7 separate regions of the Homo sapiens genome follow, and all the other regions are linked to region 3. The links are contacts of gene promoters, found by promoter capture Hi-C in blood cells and fetal thymus (Javierre and others, 2016). All regions are on one chromosome and are shown on one strand. Each heading gives the region's core, a stretch centred on a gene start or on the middle of the fragment in contact. The rest is flanking DNA. Distances are from core to core; before and after follow the strand shown.

Evidence for each region. Contacts are between HindIII fragments. The CHiCAGO score rates a contact against its expected background, and 5 or more counts as called.
Region 1: a fragment that was not itself captured here is called in contact with the fragment with the promoter of NQO1 in region 3 in 3 of 17 cell types (activated CD4 T cells, megakaryocytes and naive B cells); the score reaches 8.9 in activated CD4 T cells.
Region 2: a fragment that was not itself captured here is called in contact with the fragment with the promoter of NQO1 in region 3 in 2 of 17 cell types (endothelial precursors and activated CD4 T cells); the score reaches 6.3 in endothelial precursors.
Region 4: a fragment that was not itself captured here is called in contact with the fragment with the promoter of NQO1 in region 3 in 1 of 17 cell types (activated CD4 T cells); the score reaches 5.3 in activated CD4 T cells.
Region 5: a contact is called between a fragment that was not itself captured here and the fragment with the promoter of NQO1 in region 3, in 1 of 17 cell types (activated CD4 T cells). The highest score is 7.2, in activated CD4 T cells.
Region 6: a contact is called between a fragment that was not itself captured here and the fragment with the promoter of NQO1 in region 3, in 1 of 17 cell types (activated CD4 T cells). The highest score is 7.0, in activated CD4 T cells.
Region 7: a contact is called between the fragment with the promoter of CYB5B here and the fragment with the promoter of NQO1 in region 3, in 2 of 17 cell types (neutrophils and activated CD4 T cells). The highest score is 5.8, in neutrophils.

Annotation. Positions count from the first base shown.
Region 1 is chr16:69,403,253-69,405,973 of GRCh38, reverse strand. No RefSeq gene overlaps it. Among named protein-coding and RNA genes, the nearest start is that of TERF2, 19 kb to the right of the region's middle. The HindIII fragment of the contact is 499 bases long and covers 1,136-1,634 here.
Region 2 is chr16:69,380,474-69,383,488 of GRCh38, reverse strand. All of the region lies in intron 3 of TERF2 (telomeric repeat binding factor 2), which reads left to right. Among named protein-coding and RNA genes, the nearest start is that of TERF2, 4.0 kb to the left of the region's middle. The HindIII fragment of the contact is 1,060 bases long and covers 1,207-2,266 here.
Region 3 is chr16:69,725,305-69,728,285 of GRCh38, reverse strand. NQO1 (NAD(P)H quinone dehydrogenase 1) reads left to right here and starts at 1,726. Exons shown (of 6, transcript NM_000903.3): 1 at 1,726-1,853. The coding sequence starts at 1,847. NQO1-DT (NQO1 divergent transcript) reads right to left here and starts at 1,559. Exons shown (of 2, transcript NR_186363.1): 1 at 1,111-1,559. RefSeq lists enhancers at 257-1,250, 1,459-1,718, 965-2,164, 1,251-2,243. The HindIII fragment of the contact is 8,732 bases long and covers 210-2,981 here.
Region 4 is chr16:69,443,821-69,446,638 of GRCh38, reverse strand. All of the region lies in intron 1 of CYB5B (cytochrome b5 type B), which reads right to left. It also overlaps the pseudogene LOC100420066. Among named protein-coding and RNA genes, the nearest start is that of CYB5B, 21 kb to the right of the region's middle. RefSeq lists enhancers at 2,136-2,395, 2,426-2,505. The HindIII fragment of the contact is 3,851 bases long and covers 1-2,818 here.
Region 5 is chr16:69,461,371-69,464,127 of GRCh38, reverse strand. It overlaps CYB5B (cytochrome b5 type B), which reads right to left. Exons shown (of 5, transcript NM_030579.3): 5 at 1-1,698. The coding sequence ends at 1,608. Among named protein-coding and RNA genes, the nearest start is that of CYB5B, 38 kb to the right of the region's middle. The HindIII fragment of the contact is 1,595 bases long and covers 678-2,272 here.
Region 6 is chr16:69,358,364-69,361,203 of GRCh38, reverse strand. All of the region lies in intron 8 of TERF2 (telomeric repeat binding factor 2), which reads left to right. Among named protein-coding and RNA genes, the nearest start is that of TMED6, 8.0 kb to the right of the region's middle. RefSeq lists a silencer at 2,422-2,622. The HindIII fragment of the contact is 7,774 bases long and covers 1-2,840 here.
Region 7 is chr16:69,422,976-69,426,000 of GRCh38, reverse strand. CYB5B (cytochrome b5 type B) reads right to left here and starts at 1,382. Exons shown (of 5, transcript NM_030579.3): 1 at 1,144-1,382. The coding sequence starts at 1,317. RefSeq lists enhancers at 1,004-1,551, 1,552-2,099. The HindIII fragment of the contact is 7,938 bases long and covers 301-3,025 here.

The DNA.
Region 1 (2,721 bases), core at 136-2,635, 320 kb after region 3:
TCAGCAACTTGGAAACCATACTGAAAATACAGGCCGGAGGGCATGTAGCTTAAGAGAAAACAAGTCTCATGGGTGTGTTACAATGTAGGAAATGCTAGCGAAAGTGTCTACCAGAGGATAGAGAGGTTAAAGTTCGGCCACCCTCTTTTTCTTTATATATAATGGGTGAGAGTTGGAGGTGGGAAAGGGAGAAAGAGAATCCCACCCAAACCAAAGAGGATGTTTGGACAAGTTAATCTGCGGAAAGCTCTAGAAATTTGATGCAGGGTGATGAAAAAGCTGTGGCATGATAACATCTAGTGTTTGATTAAGCCTTTCCTCTAGGCTGGATGTCATACTTAGCACTTTACATACATTGTAGCAATTCTAGTGGGTACTATTGTTATTCCCATCTTACAGATGATGAAACTAACACTGAGAGGAGTTAGAAACTTGCCCAAGGGTCCTGCTGGTAGAGCCAGGATTTGACATCAGGGCATTCTGAACCCTATATTTGCTAACCACTATGCCCTTCCTTTCTAGCTAAAGACCTGGGTTTGAATCTAGCTCTGTTACTTGCTGGTTGAGTGACCTTGAGCAAATCAACCTCTTTGAGCCTGTTGCCTCATGTAGAAAATTCAGGGAGTAGGCCGGGCGTGGTGGCTCACACCTGTAATCCCAGCACTTGGGAGGCCGAGGCAGGCAGATCACAGGGTCAAGAGATCGAGACCATCCTGGCTAACCAACATGGTGAAACCCCATCTCTACTAAAAATACAAAAATTAGGTGGGCGCAGTGGTGCATGCCTGTAGTCCCAGCTACTCAGGAGGCTGAGGCAGGAGAATCACTTGAACCCGGGAGGCAGAGGTTGCAGTGAGCCAAGATCGAGCCACTGCACTCCAGCCCAGGCAACAGAGCAAGACTCTGTCTCAAAAAAAAAAAAAAAAAAGAAGAAGACAGAAAGAAAGAAGGAAGGAAGGAAGGAAGGGAAAATTCAGGGATTATACTAAATAATTTGTTTTCTCTCTTTCAACTCTAACATTTCAAAAATTATAATATCCCCAATCCCCCAAACTAGGATTTGTATTCCTGGCTTGAACTTTTTTCGCTCAAGACCCTATAGATTGGTTTTCCCATGGATTTCGGATCAAAAGCTTCCTTTGAATTATGTATTCCTTTGAAACGGATTCAAATGCAGGGGGATCTGAAAAGACTTCATCCTTGCTGAGTGAATCAGCATCCCGTGAACACAGGTGACAAGTTCTGACCCATCCCTTCACTGTCTGATAAGCCCAAAGGTCATGCTCTGGACTCAAACCTACTCTTCCTTCTTCCTGCCCATTTTGTGGGTTTTCTGATAAGGTGCCCTAAGGCAGCTGTAACACTGTTTTCTCTCCCTACAAACACAGTCCCCAGGGCGTGCACTCTGCCTGCAAACTTCCCAGCTGCTTCCAGCTCTCCCTCTGCCCACAGCCCTTTATTGCTGCATTCCAACAAATTAGCCATGTGACAGATTATTTTTAACTTCAATAGAGCAGCTCCCTCTCTTTTAATATATCATGCTTGGCCCACATTCCCTCGGTGAAAAGGGCACCATCGGCTACTTCTGAGAACTTTTAATTACTCCAATTGTTTGCAAAACTCTCTTAGAAGCTTGGGAAAAAAATATTGCAAGCTACAGTTCTGATTACAAGAAGAAAAGAAAATACATTTCTTTCTCCGTTCCTCTCCAGTCCCCTTACTCTCCAGTTTTCTTATTTAGTGGAGACCTGGGAATTTTCCAGGTCTTCTCAAATCCCCTCTACCCCCCTGCCACCCATTATCTAAGAGCAGGTTTTTTTAAGTATAAGTCCATCTCGAAAAAAGCTAAAGAAAAAAAGTAATAAAGTGCAAATCTAATTGGGAGGAAGGGAGGGCAGTTTCCTGAGTAACAGAGACCCCCACCCCGATCCCACACAGAACCCTAGCAGGTGAAGGATGGCAGCTCCCAAAGCACTGAATGCCCAGCCATCCTAGGTCTTGGAAGTCTCCAAGAGGGTCCTGGAGGTTGAGCTTGACACTGAGGTTGAACCTTCTATCTTGAAGTCAACTGCACGTAAACAATGAGCATCTCAGTAACCACCGCATGGGCCAAAGGCCCTTCTCCAAGTTTTCTGAACTTTCTAAATCCCAGATACTTCTCTAATTTCTTTTTCTTTCTTTCTTTTTTTTCTTTTCTTTTTTTTTTTTTTTTTTTTTTGAGATAGAGATGGAGTTTCGCTTTTTCGCCCAGGCTGGAGTGCAATGGCGCCATCTCAGCTCACTGCAACCTCTGCCTCCCGGGTTCAATCGATTCTCCTGCCTCAGCCTCCCGAGTAGCTGTGATTACAGGCGCCCACCATCACGCTCAGCTAATTTTTGTATTTTTAATAGAGACGAGGTTTCACTATGTTGGCCAGGCTGGTCTTGAACTCCTGACATCAGGTGATCCACCCACCTCGGCCCACAGGCATGAGCCACTGCACCTGGCCCATATAGTGTTCTATTGCTAATGTAAAATAAAAAAATAAAAGGAGGGGAGAAAATATAAATGTGTTATTTTATTTTTAAAATTTTTTTGGAGACAGAGTCTCATCCTGTCATCCAAGCTGGAGTGCACTGGCACGATCTCAACTCACTGCACTTTCCACCTCCCGGGTTCAAGAGATTCTCATGCTTCAGCCTCCCAAGTAGCTGGGACTACAGGCATGCGCCACCACACCT
Region 2 (3,015 bases), core at 487-2,986, 340 kb after region 3:
TATCAAGGGAGGAGAAATTCATGCCTACTTTCAGAACTGTTAAGGATCTTTTGAATGGGTACCAGTTTAGAATAATTCATTTAACTTCTATTAAGTACACATTGAGTATCCCTTATCCAAAATACTTGGGAACAGAAGCATTTTGGATTTCAGATTTTGGAATATTTGCATTAAATTTAGTTTGAGCATCCCAAATCCAAAAATCTGAAATCCCAAATGCCCTCAAATCTGAAACTTTTTGAGTGCCAACATGGCACTCAAAGGAAATGCTCATTGGAGCATTTCAGATTTCGGATTTTCAGATTTAGGATGCTCAACCTGTAGCAACTCCTTTAGAACACAAGGGCTATAGATTTGCCATCTGGCCCCTCTTCTGGAAGAGTCTTTGTGGGCTTTCATCTTTCAGCTGCGTATTTATTATTATTATTTAGGCTCATAGAGCTCCTTATTTGGGTGGTTCATTAGGAAAAATCTATTAGAAAAATCTAAGCTCTCAGAGTAGCCATTTTCTTACGTTGACTCTGTTCTCCTTTTCCAGTCTCCACCACGTACTAGATCTTATGCTTATTGTTACTGCAGTGTAACAAGTTACTCCAAGAATAAGCAGCTCAAAACAGTTAATATTATCTTTCAGTTTCCGAGGATCAGGAGTCTATTAGTGATTCTGGCTCAGGGTTTCTCATGAGGTTACAGTCAAGCTGTCAGCTAGGTTTGCAGTCATTTCAAGACTCAACTGCTTCCCTACTCACATAGTTGTTAACAAGACTCACTTTCCTACTGGCTGTTGGCTGGACACTTCAGCTCCTGGCCTCTTCACAGATAAGGCTGCTTGCAACATGGCAGCTTTGTTTTCCTACAGCAAATCATGCAAGAGAGCAAGAACCCAAGGCAGAAGTCTCATTCTTGTAGAGTCTAATCTTGGAAGTGACACATTATCACTTCCACCATATGCTCTTGGTCATACAGACTAGACTCACTCTGGTAGAGTGTGAATGGGACTCCGCAAGAGGTGAGGCGCATTGGGGGCTGCCTTTGAGGTTGGCAACCACAATTACCTTGATCTCCTAGTTGTTAAATGATATTATTTCATCCATCTCTTCAATTTACTTTGTAAAAGTTTCTCATTTACAGTCACGGAATCTGTTAATGATCGGGAAAATTCTACAGACGCCTAGGTTCAGTGAGCCTTGCTCATGCATTTAAGCTTTGTAAAGTGCCAAAACAATTTATTTAAAAGTATATTGAATCTTTCGCAAAGTTTATCAAGTAAGTTATTTGTTAAGTTAGAACCCTCAGTGCATGGTCTAGGGATCTCTGGAGGTCCCCAGGACCCTTTCAGAGAAGCCATGAGGTCAAAACTGTTTTCATAAGCAGAACCAAAACATTATTTGACTTTTTCAATGCATTGGCATTTGCATTGATGGTACAAAAGCAAGGATGAGTAAAATGGGTGATTCCTTAGCGTGATCAAGATGGTAGTAATTGTACTAGTAGTCATTGTATTCTTCACTGCCACAATTTTTTTTAAAACTACCAATTTTAATTAAGAATGTTAGTCACAGTTGTTTAAAAGCTCAGAACTCCCATTAAAAAAAAATTTAAAAAAGAATGTCTTTGGTAAAGCAGCAAAAACTGGATGAATTTTATTAACTCTAGAGCCTTGAGTAAACATCTTTTCAGGATTTTGTGTGTTGAAATAGAAAGTATGGGCCAGGTGCAGTAGCTCATACCTGTAATCCTAGCACTTTGGGAGGCTGACGTGAGTGGATCGCTTGAGCCTAGGAGTTCCAGACCAGCCTGGGTAACATAGTGAAACCCTGTCTCTACAAAAATACAAAAAATTAGCTGGGTGTGGTGGTGTGCACCTGTGGTGTCAGCTACTTGGGAGGCTGAGGCAGAAGGATCACCTGAGCCTGGGAGGTGGAGGTTGCAGTAAGCTGATATCATACCTCTGTACTCGAGCCTGGACGACAGAGTGAAGACCCTGTCAAAAAAGAAAAAAAAAAAAATAAGAGGAAGTATGACTAAAATGTTTCTGCTGCATACCAAAACATGATGGTTACCAGGAAAAGCACTTGTGTTATTATTAGAGTTGCATGCTGAACTAGCTGCTTTTTTATGGAATACTATTTTACCTGAAGAACAACTGACAAATTACAGTTGTTCACACTTGGGTATTTGGCAGTCATTTTCTTGAGAATGAGTAAAGCAAACCTGTCACATAAAACAAGTGACAGTATTTGTTGCCAGTGATAAAGTTTAAGCTTTCTAGTGAAAAACAGAATTTTGGAAAACTTGTATTCATGTGCTTGATAGCTTCCCAATACTTAGTCTTTTCTGAAGATTGGTAATATTAACAACTGACATTTAAAAAATATTTTTTAGGCTGGGCGCGGTGGCTCACGCCTGTAATCCCAGCACTTTGGGAGGCCAAGGCAGGTAGATCACCTGAGGTCAGGAGTTTGAGACCAGCCTGGCCAACATAGTGAAACCTCGTCTCTACTAAAAATACAAAAAAAATTAGCCAGGCGTGGTGGTGGGCACCTGTAATCCCAGCTACTCGGGAGACTGAGGCAGGAGAATTGCTTGAACCCGGGAGGAGGAGGTTGCCGTGAGCCGAGATCACACCACTGCACTCCAGCCTGGGAAACAGTGAGACTCCATCTCAGAAAAAAAAAAAAAAAAATTAATGAATGTGTCAATATTTGAAGATCTTCATAACTCAGTGAACCAGTATTTTCCAGATGACCAATGCATGATGTTATGAAGTCATCCATGGATGAAAGATCTATTTAAACTACAAGATAGACTGATGGATTTTTTTTTTTTTTTTAGACGTAGTCTCTCTCTGTCGCCCAGGCTGGAGTATAGTGGCGTGATCTCGGCTTACTGCAAGCTCCGCCTCCTGGGTTCAAGCAGTTCTACACCTCAGCCTCCCAAGTAGCTGTTATTACAGGCGCCCACCACCACCCCTGGCTAATTTTTGTATTATTATTAGAAATGGGTTTCACCATC
Region 3 (2,981 bases), core at 477-2,976:
ACAATTAAAACTTCACTTCCTCAGTCCACTGGCCACTTTTTTTTTTTTAATTTCCATTTTTTTTCTTTTATTGAGTCCACCACTGCGGCCTTGAATTCCTGGGCTCAAGCGATCTTTTTGCCTCAGATCCTGAGTAGCTGGGACACAGGCGCCTGCCACCACGCCTGGCTGCTGGCCACATTTCCAGTGCTCAATAGCTACTTGAAGCTTGTGGCTACCTTACTTGGGCAGCACAGATAGGGAAAGTTCTATTGGACAGGGCTGCCTACCTAGCCCTTTTTTAAAACGTCCTTTTATACTATTTTGTCAGATGGGGTCTCACTTTGTTGCTCAGGCTTTTCTCAAACTCTTGGGCTCAAGTGATCCTCCTGCCTCAGCCTCCCAAAGTAATTTGTAAATACGTGTAAATAATATAGTCCTCTCTTGTTGCATCAAAATGAATGCAAAAATGTCACGATGGGGCCGGGCGCGGTGGCTCATGCCTGTAATCCCAGCACTTCGGGAGGCCGAGGCGGTAGGATCACCTGAGGTCGGGAGTTGGAAACCAGTTTTCTGGTGCCTCCTTAACTTTTGCACTGGAGGGACAACGGAAGGGCCCTGTGTCATCCTCACCTCCCCCATCTGTGATTCTTCTGATGGTTAATTACCACTTTAAAGCTCTAGTTCTTTTTCCTTCACCTACTGAGAGTATATCTCCTTCTTTACAGTAACTTTTACTTTATAGAGTTTTTTTTGAGACGGAGTCTCACTTCGTCACCCAGGCGGGAGTGCAGTGGCACGATCTCGACCCACTGCAACCTCCGCCTTCCGGGTTCAAGCGATTCTCCTGCCTCAGCCTCCCGAGTAGCTGGGACTTACAGGCGCCCGCCATCACGCCCAGCTAATTTTTCAGTACAGACGGGGCTTCACCAGGTTGGCCAGGCTGGTCTCGAACTCCTGACCTCAGGTGATCCACCCACCTCGGCCTCCCATATTGCTGGGATTACAGGCGTGAGCCACCGCGCCTGGTCCCGTTTTGGCTATTCTTTAATATGCTTCCCTATAACTGCTATCTCCACACCAGCCTTGCCTTAGCTCATGGGAAACAAAACCAATTAGTTCCCCCATTACCTGCCTTGAGGAGCAGGGGTGGTGCAGTGGCATGCACCCAGGGAAGTGTGTTGTATGGGCCCCCAAGTGCAGAATCTGAATCTTGCAAAGGAAGAAACAAATTCGTCTCCACGGAGCATGTCTCCCCAGGACTCTCAGCCTTCCAAATCCGCAGTCACAGTGACTCAGCAGAATCTGAGCCTAGGGCACCACAGTAATCCGCATCCGGCTCTTTTTCTGCTCCATTTCGTGCCAAGGCTAAAAGGGCATGCCCACTTGATCCCTGGACTCTCTTGGGACGACTTCCACCCTGCATCCTCTTGCACCTCAGGGCACAGTGCGCAGATGGGCTTGCCTTAGCACCCCCAGCCAGATTTTTGAGGCCTCTGTCACACACACCCCTACAATCCCCTCCCCCAGCCCCGAGAGACTTTTCTTGACTTCCACCAGTTGCTCCGGCGGGTGAGAGTGGAGAGGCCCCTCCTTCATCCCCCAGGCTCCCTCCCTTCCTGGAGCTGCAGCCTCAGCATCCTCCGCCCAGCACCCCAGGATTCAGGCGTTGGGTCCCGCCCTTGTAGGCTGTCCACCTCAAACGGGCCGGACAGGATATATAAGAGAGAATGCACCGTGCACTACACACGCGACTCCCACAAGGTTGCAGCCGGAGCCGCCCAGCTCACCGAGAGCCTAGTTCCGGCCAGGGTCGCCCCGGCAACCACGAGCCCAGCCAATCAGCGCCCCGGACTGCACCAGAGCCATGGTCGGTGAGTGCTGCAAAGGGCGGGGTGCTTGGCGGTCGTCTCTCGAGCACTGGTGCCTGTGGAGGAGGTTGTAGGGGCTTGGCCCTGAATTTTGTTCCTTGACTCAAAACCCACAAAGGGAAGAGATTAGGGACCTGGGATGAGCCTTGATCGGACTCCGGGAGAAGGAGAGCTTCTGTTTGTATCCGGTGTCGCGGATCCTTCCTCACTCCACCCCACGAACTCTAGTGGGCATTTAGGAGAAACTTGACCTTGGAAGCAGAAATTCCCTCCAAAACTGTGGTCAGAAACTGGCCGTCAGAGGCCAAATCAGGCTTACGGTCACAGCCCATACCTCTTTTGGTCTATAGTATCTAAAACACTTTGAAATAAGTTGCTAACATTAAAATGGGTGATTTCACTTAAAAATGTGGATTCCGAGCTTCTGAAGAAAATGAGAATATCTGGCGATTGGTGGACAGGAGTGGAGGAAACTGATGCCTTTGGTTTGACGGAGACCAGAACCGGCTCCAGGCTGCCAGGCACAGGTTTTGTTTTGTTTTGTTTTGTTTTGTTTTGTTTGAGACGGAGTTTTGCTCTTGTCGCCCAGGCTGTAGTGCAATGGCGCTATCTCAGCTCAGCGAAACTTCCGCCTCCCGGGTTCAAGCGATTCTCCCATCTCAGCCTCCCGAGTAGCTGGGATTACAGGAGTGCGCCATCATGCGCGGCTAATTTTTATATTTTTAGTACAGACGGGTTTCGCCAAGTTGGCCAGCGCGGTCTTGAACTCCTGACCTCAGGTGATCCACCCACCTCAGCCTCCCCAAGTGCTGAGATTACTGACGTGAGCCACCGTGCCTGGCCTTGGGAGGCATTTTCCATTGAGGCCCTTGGATTAGGCAAACCTGATCAGATCGTACTGGATCCGTTTCTAGTATTGGGTCCACTTCAGTGATAGAGCCTTCCCACTCGGCCATCGACCCTAGGGGAACTCAGAGGTCACCCCAGCTCCACCCAAGGCATAAATAACCAGCTGAGACAACTGCAGGGATTGAGAGCTGTTTCCCAAATAATCTCACTCTGAGATTGGACAGTACTAAGATTTAGAAAGCTGTTGCCTCATCTGGGGCAGAATCCTGTGTTTTGTAATTT
Region 4 (2,818 bases), core at 112-2,611, 280 kb after region 3:
TTAAAAAGTTAACTAGGCCAGGCACGGTGGCTCATGCCTGTAATCCCAGCACTTTGGGAGGCCAAGGCGGGCAGATCACTTGAGATCAGGAGTTCAAGACCAGCCTGGCCAACTTGGTGAACCCGTCTGTACTAAAAATACAAAAAGTGCCAGGCATGGTGGTGGTGGGTGCCTGCAGTCCCAGCTACTCAGGAGGCTGAGGCAGGAGAATCACTTAAACCTGTGAGGGGGAGGTTGCAGTGTGCCAAGATCACGCCACTGCACTCCAGCCTGGGCAAAAGAGTGAGACTCTGACTCAAAATAAATGAATAAATAAATAAGTTAACTATATAAAGTAGTGCCTCAGGAAGTAGATTCTATAACTATCAGCTATGTGACCCTGCACAAGTTATTAAAAAATTGAGATGTCTTTAGTTCCTTAGTTGTAAAATGGAAATATTAATAAGAGTACCTGTCTTGACAACTATTGTACATATTAAATGAGATAAGCATATAAAACACTTTGCACTCCAGAAGAGCATAATATAATACCATCTACAATTTTTAAATGAAGATATATATATGCATATTTATACCCATGCATAAAATCTCTCTGAAAATGGTGAAAGAACCTAGTGGCTGGGAGATAGGGTAGAAGGAAGACTTCACCACATACTCTTCTGAAAAAAAATTTTTTTTTTTTGAGATGGAGTTTCGCTCTTGTTGCCCAGGCTGAAGTGCAATGGCACAATCTCAGCTCACCGCAACCTCTGCCACCCGGGTTCAAGCGATTCTCCTGCCTCAGCCTCCCAAGTAGCTGGGATTACAGGCATGCGCCACCATGCCCAGCTAATTTTGTATTTTTAATAGAGACGGGGTTTTTCTCCATGTTGGTCTCGAACTCCCAATCTCAGGTGATCCACCAGCCTCGGCCTCCCAAAGTGCTGGGATTAAAGGTATGAGCCACCATGCCCAGCCTCTGAAACTGTTTTACCAAATAAAGCATTACTTACTCAGAAAATTAACCATTTTGTAAAATTATATTTAGCACAGTCCTTGACTTAAATACTCAAAAAACATTTACTTAAATTAGCAAATTTAGAATTTATATTATTTAATATATCAAAATTTGTATTTTTGAAATATTAATGCTTTTTACTTTTTATAACAACCATTTCAGCAGGAATAAATTATCATTCCTATTTTAAATAAATGTTAATTCAATTGAAGTATAAAAACTGTAAGTGTTACTTCCCAGTCATAGTCACCAGCCTATGAGCTCCCTGAGGATAAGGATAACTTCTATTTTTATCTCCTAAAAGGTCTCCACCCAGTGAGTGGGTCTCACATCCCAGTATTTAAGAATGCTATTTTACAGCAAGAGTAAGACAGCCACGATTCACTTGTTATTATATCTGAAACTCTCAGGTTATTATATGTGAAACTGTTCTTTGTTGTGGAACTAAGTCATCAGTTCTGGAATTATGTCCCAATTTGTTCTATACACCTAAACTATGGATGATATTTTTTCCTTTTGACACAACCCAACTATTGTGTTGCCTTTCAGAGTAAAAGGACAATAAAACTCCTTCATAGATTACAACATTTCAGGGAATGACTGAATTTTTGACTTGCTACACAGTTCTTTCTACAAGTACTTTCACTTTCATCAGTCTCTCACCACTTATAAACAAGAGAAAGCACAACACTTTTTTAAAATATTAAGTAAAAGTTATATATTCGCTGTGGTAAATTTGGAAAAAAGAATAATCAACTAGAGTCCTGGAACAGAAATAAGTCCAGTTAACAATTTGGTGCATAAAACTTCATTTTTCCTGTGTATTCTTTCAATCATTTCAGCCATTAGTCTACAATTTTTTATTGAATCCTTACTATTTTGTGTGGTAGGCAGTGATAAATAAAAGTTTTTTGTGTTCTCACAAAGTGAATTCATGTAGTACATAATGTTTTGTAGCCTGCTTCTTTTTTTTTTTCACTGAAGCAAGTGGGGGTCAGAGTGATCAAACAAAATTCTACGGTTTAATAACTTTCACTCTAAAATATGGTCTTAATAGAGATGGCTTAGAACAAGCAAAAAGACGTCAGGGAGCTTTTGGTTTCTGTTTAGAACTCTATAGTCTCCAGATAGAGTTAGCGAAAATCAAATGGATGCAGGGCTGCCATGGGCCACTGGCAGCCCAGCTGGAGGAGTTGGAATCACTGCACTAGGCCCGAGGCTATAGCAGGGTCCTGGCCAGTCTTAGGCCAAGATAATGCCCAGGCTGAGGAGCATACGAAGGCCTCGACGAAAACCCAAAGAGCCCCGGCACCCCAGGAGAAGCCAGACCAGCTCTCAGTGAAGACAGAGGGTAGGAGCTACTGTCCAACTCCAGCGTCAGCCACTGGATGGTCCCGCCCATGTTTATCATCTGCTTCTTCTCAGATATGATCTGCCACTACATGTTCATCCTGGTACAGAGCGACAAGAAGCTCACCCAGGAGCAAGTATCTGACAGTTAAGTCCTAATTTGAAGCAGAGCCTTCAGTGAAAATGGAAATTACATTCCCAAAAAGTCTTTTTCTTGACATGAGAATATTACATCAACAACCCAGAGGATAAAAATATCACCACTTCCTCCCACTATGCTCTCAGGCATGATGAAAGGAAATATAACAAACGTCATCCCTATGATTCTTACTTGTGAATGGATCAACATTGACATACTCAGGCATTGTTGCAACCAAGGTCCTATTTCCACTGACCCTCTGTTTTTTGTTGTTGTTGTTTGTTTGTTTGTTTGTTTTGAGACGGAGTCTCACTCTGTTGCCCAGGCTGGAA
Region 5 (2,757 bases), core at 226-2,725, 260 kb after region 3:
CTGGGCAGTTTCCTGTCTCATCAAATCCCTGGCAAGCTGGGAGGGAGGGAGGAGATGCTGAGCAGCCTCTATGGTCCTTCTTGAACCAAGCTGCTCCCTGCTGGATATGACAATGGCTCAGAAGCAGACTAGCAATTCTCAAAGGACAGGGAGAAAAATCACCACAGTTGCTGGCAGAAAACAGCCAGTGTACTATTTATTTCCTCAAGTGCTTCCATGGGGGAAAAAATAAAAGTCTAATATGCCAGAGAAATCATCATTGAACCAATAAGACACAGTAACATAATTCTAGTAACCTACTTCTCAATGAACACACATCTGAGAAAAAAACCGCCAGTATTTTATTCTCATGGAAAAACAGAACAAACCCACAAGTTGGAGTCACGGAGATAAAATACAGATGAAATGGAAAACGGTCTGTTGTCATGAACTCTCACTTTCAAATACCATTTTATATGGAAGTTACTTTACTGCGGGGCAAACAGAAGGCCATGCTGGAGTCTCTTACTTTTGGAAAATGGAGAATCAAAAATTTGCTAATCAACAAACAAAAAAGGAGGGAAACTCCTTGGTAAAGCTCTACAAACATAATTATACATTTATATTTTACCAATAAAAGATAGCTAGGGTAGAAAAAACAGATGGTTAGAAACTGGTGCCAAACCAAAGTGAAAGCTTTGGTGCCTTCTCTAAACTCCTATCCTGTTTCTTTAGAAAACACCAGTTTTCTAAAGAAAGATTACTCTGAATTCACCAGGGTTCTATCACCCCAATTCATCCCTACCTTTCCACCCCCAAGACACGAAAGGGCCATGTAGTTTTTTGTCCGGCACCACTTGGGAAGGGGCTGGGCTCAGGGGCTGGGAAGAGCTACCTGCTGCCCTAGCTTGAAAGGGAGGAGGTGGCCACACCATTCTTTGTATTTTTATCACGCACATAAAAGAACAAAAATCATTTGGCAGTTTTAAGTTTAATAGGTGCAAACCTTTACTTCAGGAATTAAACCCCTTATGATAAATAAAAGAATTAAATCAGATTTTTTTTTAATACAGATAGGGGTCTCGCTATGTTGCCCAGGCTGGTCTTGAACTCTTGGCCTCAAGCGATCTTCCCACCTTGGCCTCCCAAAGTGCCAGGATTACAGGCCTGAGCCACCACACCTAGCCCTAAATCAGAATTTTTTAAAAAAAATTTACTTAAAAGAAAAATGGAAAAATAAAACTTTCAACACTAGACTGCCGCCCTGTTAAGAATGTCTAATATGCAATCAAAGTATTGGAAAGCAGGCATTTTTACCAAAGAGCAATGTCACTATAACTTATGAACAGAAAGTTGTGAAATATAAGGGTACTCATGGAAACCAGTGAAGAGAGGAAACACCGGCAATTGTTCAACACGGAACAGTGAGCAGGTACTTTGGGAGTAAGGCTCTGAGAGATGGAAGACGCTGGTCTCAGATCTGAGGTGATGTCTGGCCAATCGTCTTGGCTCCAAGGGGGAAGAATGCAACTGGCAGGATTCGAGGAGAGGGCACTTCTGCAGCCCCCAAGCAAGTCTCTAGTTTTCGCCCCAAAGTGGATGCACTTTCTAACTTCAGCAAGGCCTCCTCAGGAGGATTTGCTTTCCGATGTGTAGTAGCGGTACAGGAAACCTAAGAGAACAGCGCCTATGATGGGTAAAATCCAATATGCCCAGCAACTAGGAATAGGGGGAGAAAGCAATAAAGTTGTTAATATTTTAAGCCAAATGTTCACTATCTTTCAGCTTTCACATGTTTTTATATAGGCAAGGAGTTTTTATTTACTTTGGGAAATTTAACTGCTTTTATCACAAAGTAGTTGGGGAAAAATATTTGAATTGGAGTGACAATATTACAAAGTAATTTTTTAAAAGGTTAAAAACAACCAATAGTATGATATCAAATAAGATGTCTTTAAATGCCTCTATATGTGTTTCTACAAAGTCATATAGTGGTTATTTCTGAGTTAGGGATTATGGATACTCTCACATTTTCTTCATTGTGCTTTTGCTTTTCACGTATTCTACAATTAAACATTTTTAAACAGGAAAAAACACCATTATGTATGTGACATTTCATATATGTATAAAAACATATCCATCCCAATATAAATTTGGAAGTAATCATATCTAATATAACTACCAGAAATATCCTATCTGCTTCATATGTATTTTAAAGATTTAATCCTTATGAAATAGGATAACCTACGAAATAGGGTTATTATTCTCATCTCATACAAGGGAAATATAAGCTTTGCACCCCAAATCCCAAAGCTAGAAAGGCAGCTGGACAGTCTGATTCCAAACCCATCCTCTTAATCCCTAGTTAAGTTTGGACACTAATAAGGATACACATACACACAAAGCATATACAGTTCTAACAGGGTGAAGCAAATGGCAGCTTCAAAAGTACTGCAAGAGACCTTCCTTAGGAGCTTCAGAACAGTCATCATTCTCCTTAACATAATAATTCTTTAATAGAACTTATTAGCACACTAGTTTTAAGGTATAATTCTTCCATGATCCAAATGACCCGGCTGCCCCTCTACTTAAGACATATGAGTCTTGGTATTAAAAGGTTTTGAAGTCAATAAAACGAGCTGAAGTTCATAAGAAAAATGATTCTCTTTGCCTAAACATGCCTAGCACTCTGTATGCTTACGTACAGCAGAAAGCTACTCTGGACTAGTTTAGAATATCAGCCAGGTAGCTTTGTTTACAAAACCAAGCAATATGGCA
Region 6 (2,840 bases), core at 217-2,716, 370 kb after region 3:
CCAGAATGCAGTGGTGTAAACATGGCTCACTGAGCTTCAACCTTCTGGGCTCAAGTGATCCTCCTGCCTCAGCCTCCTGAGTAGCTGGGACTGCAGGTGTGCACCACCACACCTGGCTGTTTTTTTCACTTTTTGTAGAGATGGGGTCTCACTTTGTTGCTCAGGCTGGTCTCAAACTCTTGGGCTCAAGCGATCCTCCCACCTCAGCCTCCCAGAGTGCTGGGATTACAGATGTGAGTCACTGTGCCCTGGTCAAGGAGTCAGTCTGATGTCCTCTCCCATTAAATAATGGAGACTGTCAGAGTAACGCCTTATGTTTAAAGAGAGTTCTTGGTTTTGTTTTAATAACGCCTATGATATTTAATTATAGTTGATGTTCTTCCTAAAATCCTTCAATTAGATGTGGTAGTAGGGGGTCATTCCCTGCATTTCTTGTTTAAAGAAAAAAAAATCTTAACAGTTTCTATATATAAATCCTTTTTTTTTTTTTTTTTTTTTGAGACAGGGTCTCACTCTCATCCAAGGTGGAATGCAGTGGTGTGATCTTGGCTCACTGTAGCCGTGACATCCTGGGCTAAAGCAATTCTCCCACCTTAGCCTCTGGAGTATCGGGGACTACAGGCCCTTGCCACCATGCCCAACTAATCTTTTTTTGTATTTTTAGTAGAGCCAGGGTTTCACCATGTTGGCCAGTATGATCTCGAACTCCTGGGCTCAAGCAATCTGTCTGCCTCATCCTCTCAAAGTGCTGGGACTATACTTGTGAGCCACCATACCATACCCTACCAAAATTGTTTTCTTTTTTTCTTTTTTTTTTTTGAGATGCAGTCTTACTTTGTTGCCCAGGCTGGAGTGCAATGGTGCGATCTCGGCTCACTGCAACCTCCGCCTTCCAGGTTCAAGTGATTCTTATGACTCAGCCTCCTTAGTAGCTGGGATTGCAGGTGTGTCGCACCACGCCCGGCTAATTTTTGTATTTTTAGTAGTCGGGTTTTCACCATGTTGGGCAGGCTGCTCTCAAACTCCTGACCTCAAGTGATCTGCTCGCCTCAGCCTCCCAAAGTGTTGGGATTACAGGTGTGAGCCACCGCCCAGACCCAAATTGTACTTCTATAAAATGAACAAGGACTTGAAAATTCTAGGCTGGGCGTAGTGGCTCATGCCTGTAATCCCAGCACTTTGGGAGGCCGAGGCAGGCGGATTCCTTGAACTCAGGGGTTGGAGACCAGCTTGGGCAAGAGGGCAAAACTCCATGTCTACAAAAAATACAAACAAAAAAAATTTAGGCCAGGAGTGGTGGCTCACGCCTGTAATCCCAGCACTTTTGAAGGCCGAGGCAGGCGGATCACAAGGTCAGAAGTTCGACACCAGCATGGCCAATATGGTGAAACCCTGTCTCTACTAAAAATACAGAAATTAGCCGGGTGTGGTGGCAGGCGCCTGTAGTCCCAGCTACTCAGGAGGCTGAGGCAGGAGAATAGCTTGAACCCGGGAGGCGGAGGTTGCAGTGAGCTGAGATTGCACCACTGCACTCCAGCCTGGGCAAAAAAAAAAAAAAAAAAAAAAAAAAAAAAAATTGGGAATGATAGTAAGAGGAAGATTAAAAAATGAAGGAGAAAAAAAGAAAATTTTAGTACAAAACAGCAAAACCATATGATTTCTTTTTTTTTTTTTTTGAGACAGAGTCTCGCTCTGTTGCCCAGGCTGGGGTGCAGTGGCGCGATCTTGCCTCACCGCAACCTCCACCTCCTGGGTTCAAGTGATTCTCCTGCCTCAACCTCCCGAGTAGTTGGGACTATAGGTATGTGCCACCACTCCCAGCTAATTTTCATATTTTTAGTAGAGAAGGAGTTTTGCCATGTTGTCCAGACTAGTCTCGAACTCCTGACCTCAAGTGATCCGCCCGCCTTGGCCTCCCAAAGTGCTGGGATTACAGGCGTGAGCCACCACACCCAGCCAAAACCATGTGATTTCAAAGCAGTGGTTAGCAAGGGGTTATAATGCAGAAATTATACATATAAACACACCTATAGTCATGTGCCACATAACAAAGTTTTGGTTAACGATGGACTGCATATATGGTGACGGTGGTCCCATTAGGTTATATATAGAGCTGAAAAATTCATATCGCCTAGTGACATTGTAGATGTCATAGGCATTGTAACATTGTAGTGCAATGCATTACTTTGTCTCTGTTTAGATATGTTTAGATACACAATATTTACCATTGTGTCACAGTTGCATGTCACATGCTGTACAGGTTTGTAGCGGAAAAATAGGCTACACCATATATCGTAGGCATATTCCTTTTTTGCAGAGGTTAGCTAAGTTAATAGTAATCGGTAAGATTAAGGGGATTAGGACTGTTATAGCAGTGGAAGAATACATGTTTGTTACTTTTATTTGGAGTTGCACCAATGTTTTTGGTTCCTAAGTCCAGTGGATGACTCTAGTCCTTTAAAAGTTGAGAAAGCCATGTTGTTAGACATGGGGACATGAGTTAGCAGTTGTCAGATACTTTCTCCATAGATAAGAAGTTGCAGGCTAGAGCCTAGGCTCTACCATCTAGGTTTGTGTAAGTCACACAAGGATGAAATCACCAAACGATGCATTTCTCAGAACATATCCCCATTGTTAAGCAACATATGACTGTATATATACATACACACACTAATACCTATATGTATATGTAGACATTATATATACATAAGGGTTTTAAATATGACGTTCCCTCAGTAATTTTAGAAAACGATGTTGGGGCCAGGCATGGTGGTTCACACCTGGAATCCCAGCACTTTGGGAGGCCGAGGTGGGTGGATCACTAGGTCAGGAGATTGATA
Region 7 (3,025 bases), core at 133-2,632, 300 kb after region 3:
GGGGGAAACTTTTAAATTTTAAAAGTTTTTAGAATTAAAAGTCAGGATGCAGAGATTTCTCTTTTAGGCCCCAAATTAATCGAAAAAATATTTCACTAGTATATTTGCTTCAGAGAAATAGAAGTGAACTTTCACAAGTCATTAATCTATTGCTCAAAATAAAATGATCACACACAAACCGAAAATCAAAGCTTCAAACATACACACACCGAAAATCAAAGCTTCAAACCAATCTTTAGCGGCTGCATATCACTAGTTGCCTGGGGTTGGGAGAGAATGACTGCAAAGGGAAAGGAAGCTTTTTAGAATGATGGAAATGGTTTATGTCTTAACATGGATGAATACATTTTTCAAAACTCATCAAAATGTACATTTTAGATAGGCACAATTTACGTATGTACATTACACCTCAATAAAGTTTTAAATATTTAGAAGTCTATCCTGTTTCCTTAAAAAAAAAATTAGTTGCACCATGGTCTCAAAAATAATTTTTAAAATGAGATGTAATGCAACAGACTTGAAGATTAAATAAAACAGTCTTGAATATTTAAGAAAAATGACAAAACATGAGTCAAAAACAAAAAAAAAGGGTTGATTTATGAGTTTCTGGCCTCAAGGTCAACTCAGATTAGGGGGAAAAAAAAACAGTGGAGGCATAATCAAGATGGGGAAGCGTGTGGAGAGAAATCTCAGCTTCTACTCTAGAAGACGAAAACCAAAACCGGTATTACTTCAGAAGGCACACTGGAAAAGCACAGATGTGGGTGCACTTCAGACCTAGGTTCAACGGATCTAAGCTGCTAACTCTATGGCCCTGAGAGTCCTCAACCTGTGAGCCTCAGTTTCCCTTTCTGTAAAATAAAGATAATGATGGCTTAGAGTTTAGCTGAGCACACAGCAAATGCTCGACACATAAGTAATACATGATATTACATAAGGCACCAGAACTCGGAGCTGACTGGAAATGCATGCAAACTAAAGCCCTCCCCCAATCCCACCCCAGTTTCCCTCTGAGGGTCGTGATCCCTTTCTTACGCCTTATCGCCCCCAGCCAAGCCTCCCTTCCTTCCCACATACACTCCACACAGCCTTTTCACCCCTCGCCCCAGCAGCTTCAGAGGCCTCCCACCTCCCAGGCCCCACCTCGTTGAGGAAGCGGGTGACATCGTAGACTCGCCCATGGATCACAAGCCACAGTTCCTTCAAGGAGTTGCGCTTTGCCACCTCCTCCAACCGGTAATAGGTGACTGAGGTCTCGACTTCCTGCCCTTTCCCATCGCTGCCGCTAGCTTCCGCAGTCGCCATTGAACCGGACATACTGCCTCTCCACCGCTAACTGAGATTCCGCGACTACTTTCCTTGAGAGCCCGCGCTCAGCCTTCCTCGGCTTCCGTAACCAGGGCCCATAAGGCCTTGAGACGGTTCCTAGCAACAGCCAATCACACTTCCGAATAGTTCCTGGTTCGTTTTCTTTTCACCAATGAAGGGAGTGGCTCAGTTCGAAATCCCGCCCACTCCTCGCCCGATCCTCCAGATGAAAGTCTGGTTCGAGGTCCAACTAACCAATTAGGGTCGTTCAGCCCCCTCCAACCTCGCCAATCAGATACCGCGATTTTTGGACTGGCGCCCAAAAGAGGCGTGCTGACAGGTGTCACTTCAGGAGAGGTACCACTTCTCTCAGCCTGTGGGCCTTTAGGGTCTCCAGTGTTCTGCTTCCCTTCCCATCGCTGTGGCTTTCTCCTGAGTCTCAGAAAGTTCCTATCCCCTACACTACCGGCGCAGCCTGTATCCCAACCCTGATTTTACATCTTTGCTGCCTCCAGGTCGTGATCTGGCCAATCCCGTCTCTCCTCAATTTCCCCATCAGTAAAATGGGCTTGATAAAGCACTCTCTTACAGAGGGGTTTGCCTTTTTTTTTTTTTTTTTTTTTTTTGAGACAAGTTCTCGCTCTGTCTCCTAGGCCAGAGTGCAGTGGCACGATCTCGGCTTACTGCAAACTCCGCCTCCCAGGTTCAAGCGATTCTCCTACCTCAGCCTCTCGACTAGCTGGAACTACAGGCATGCGCCACCACGCCCGGCTAATTTTTGTATTTTTAGTAGAGAGTAGGTTTCACCATGTTGGCCAGGCTGGTCTCGAACTCCTGACCTCAGGTGATCCGCCTGCGTAGGCCTCCCAAAGTGCTGGGATTACAGGCGTGAGCCACCGCGCCTGGCCCGGTTTGCCTATTTTAATGAGAGTGCCTGTAAAGCGCTTGGCGCATAGTAATCGCTAAACATGGCAGTCGATTAGAAAGGCAATTGCTGTCCCGGACAGCAATTGGGGGTAGAATGTGGAGTATCCTATGTTTCTACCATCATTCAGAATCCGATTTTCAAACGAATTCTGTGATGATCAGGATCAATCGGCACTATTTTAGTCTCTACGTGATCTAAAATAGAATTGAACTCAACTGCTCTCCGCTAGAGGTCCCAGCACTTTGGAATTCCAAGTTTGGTTAAGGTACAGTGTTGTGCGCCACTTTTTAACTGCCATTACAACTGACAGATTGCTCTTCCTATGATGTCGTCGTTTTCATCCTGTCACTCTCGCAGTCTACCATTCAGGGCTCTCCACAATCCATTCGCAACCTCTTTCACTAACGTATAATATTTTCCACCATTCCCTTTATAAGCCTGTTGCACCCGCCCCGACTCTGAAACCTGCTGGTTTAAAACCACATCCGTGGTCATCCCAGGTCCACCAAGTTAATTTTAGATCACTTAGAGACTAAAATAGTGCAGATTGATCCTGATCATCACAGAATTCATTTGAAAATCGGATTCTGAATGGTGGTAGAAACATGGGATACTCCACATTCTACCCTCAATTGCTGTCCCAAGGACTCCTCTTCCTTTCAATGCCTACCGGCTTTTCAAGTTCCTCTTCAGTTTCTTCTATTTTCAAACTTCTCCTACCGTTTTGAGCTCCAGTGCTTCCATCCCTTTGTAGTACCTAAGAAAGCATATTACTATTTTGGGAAGCCT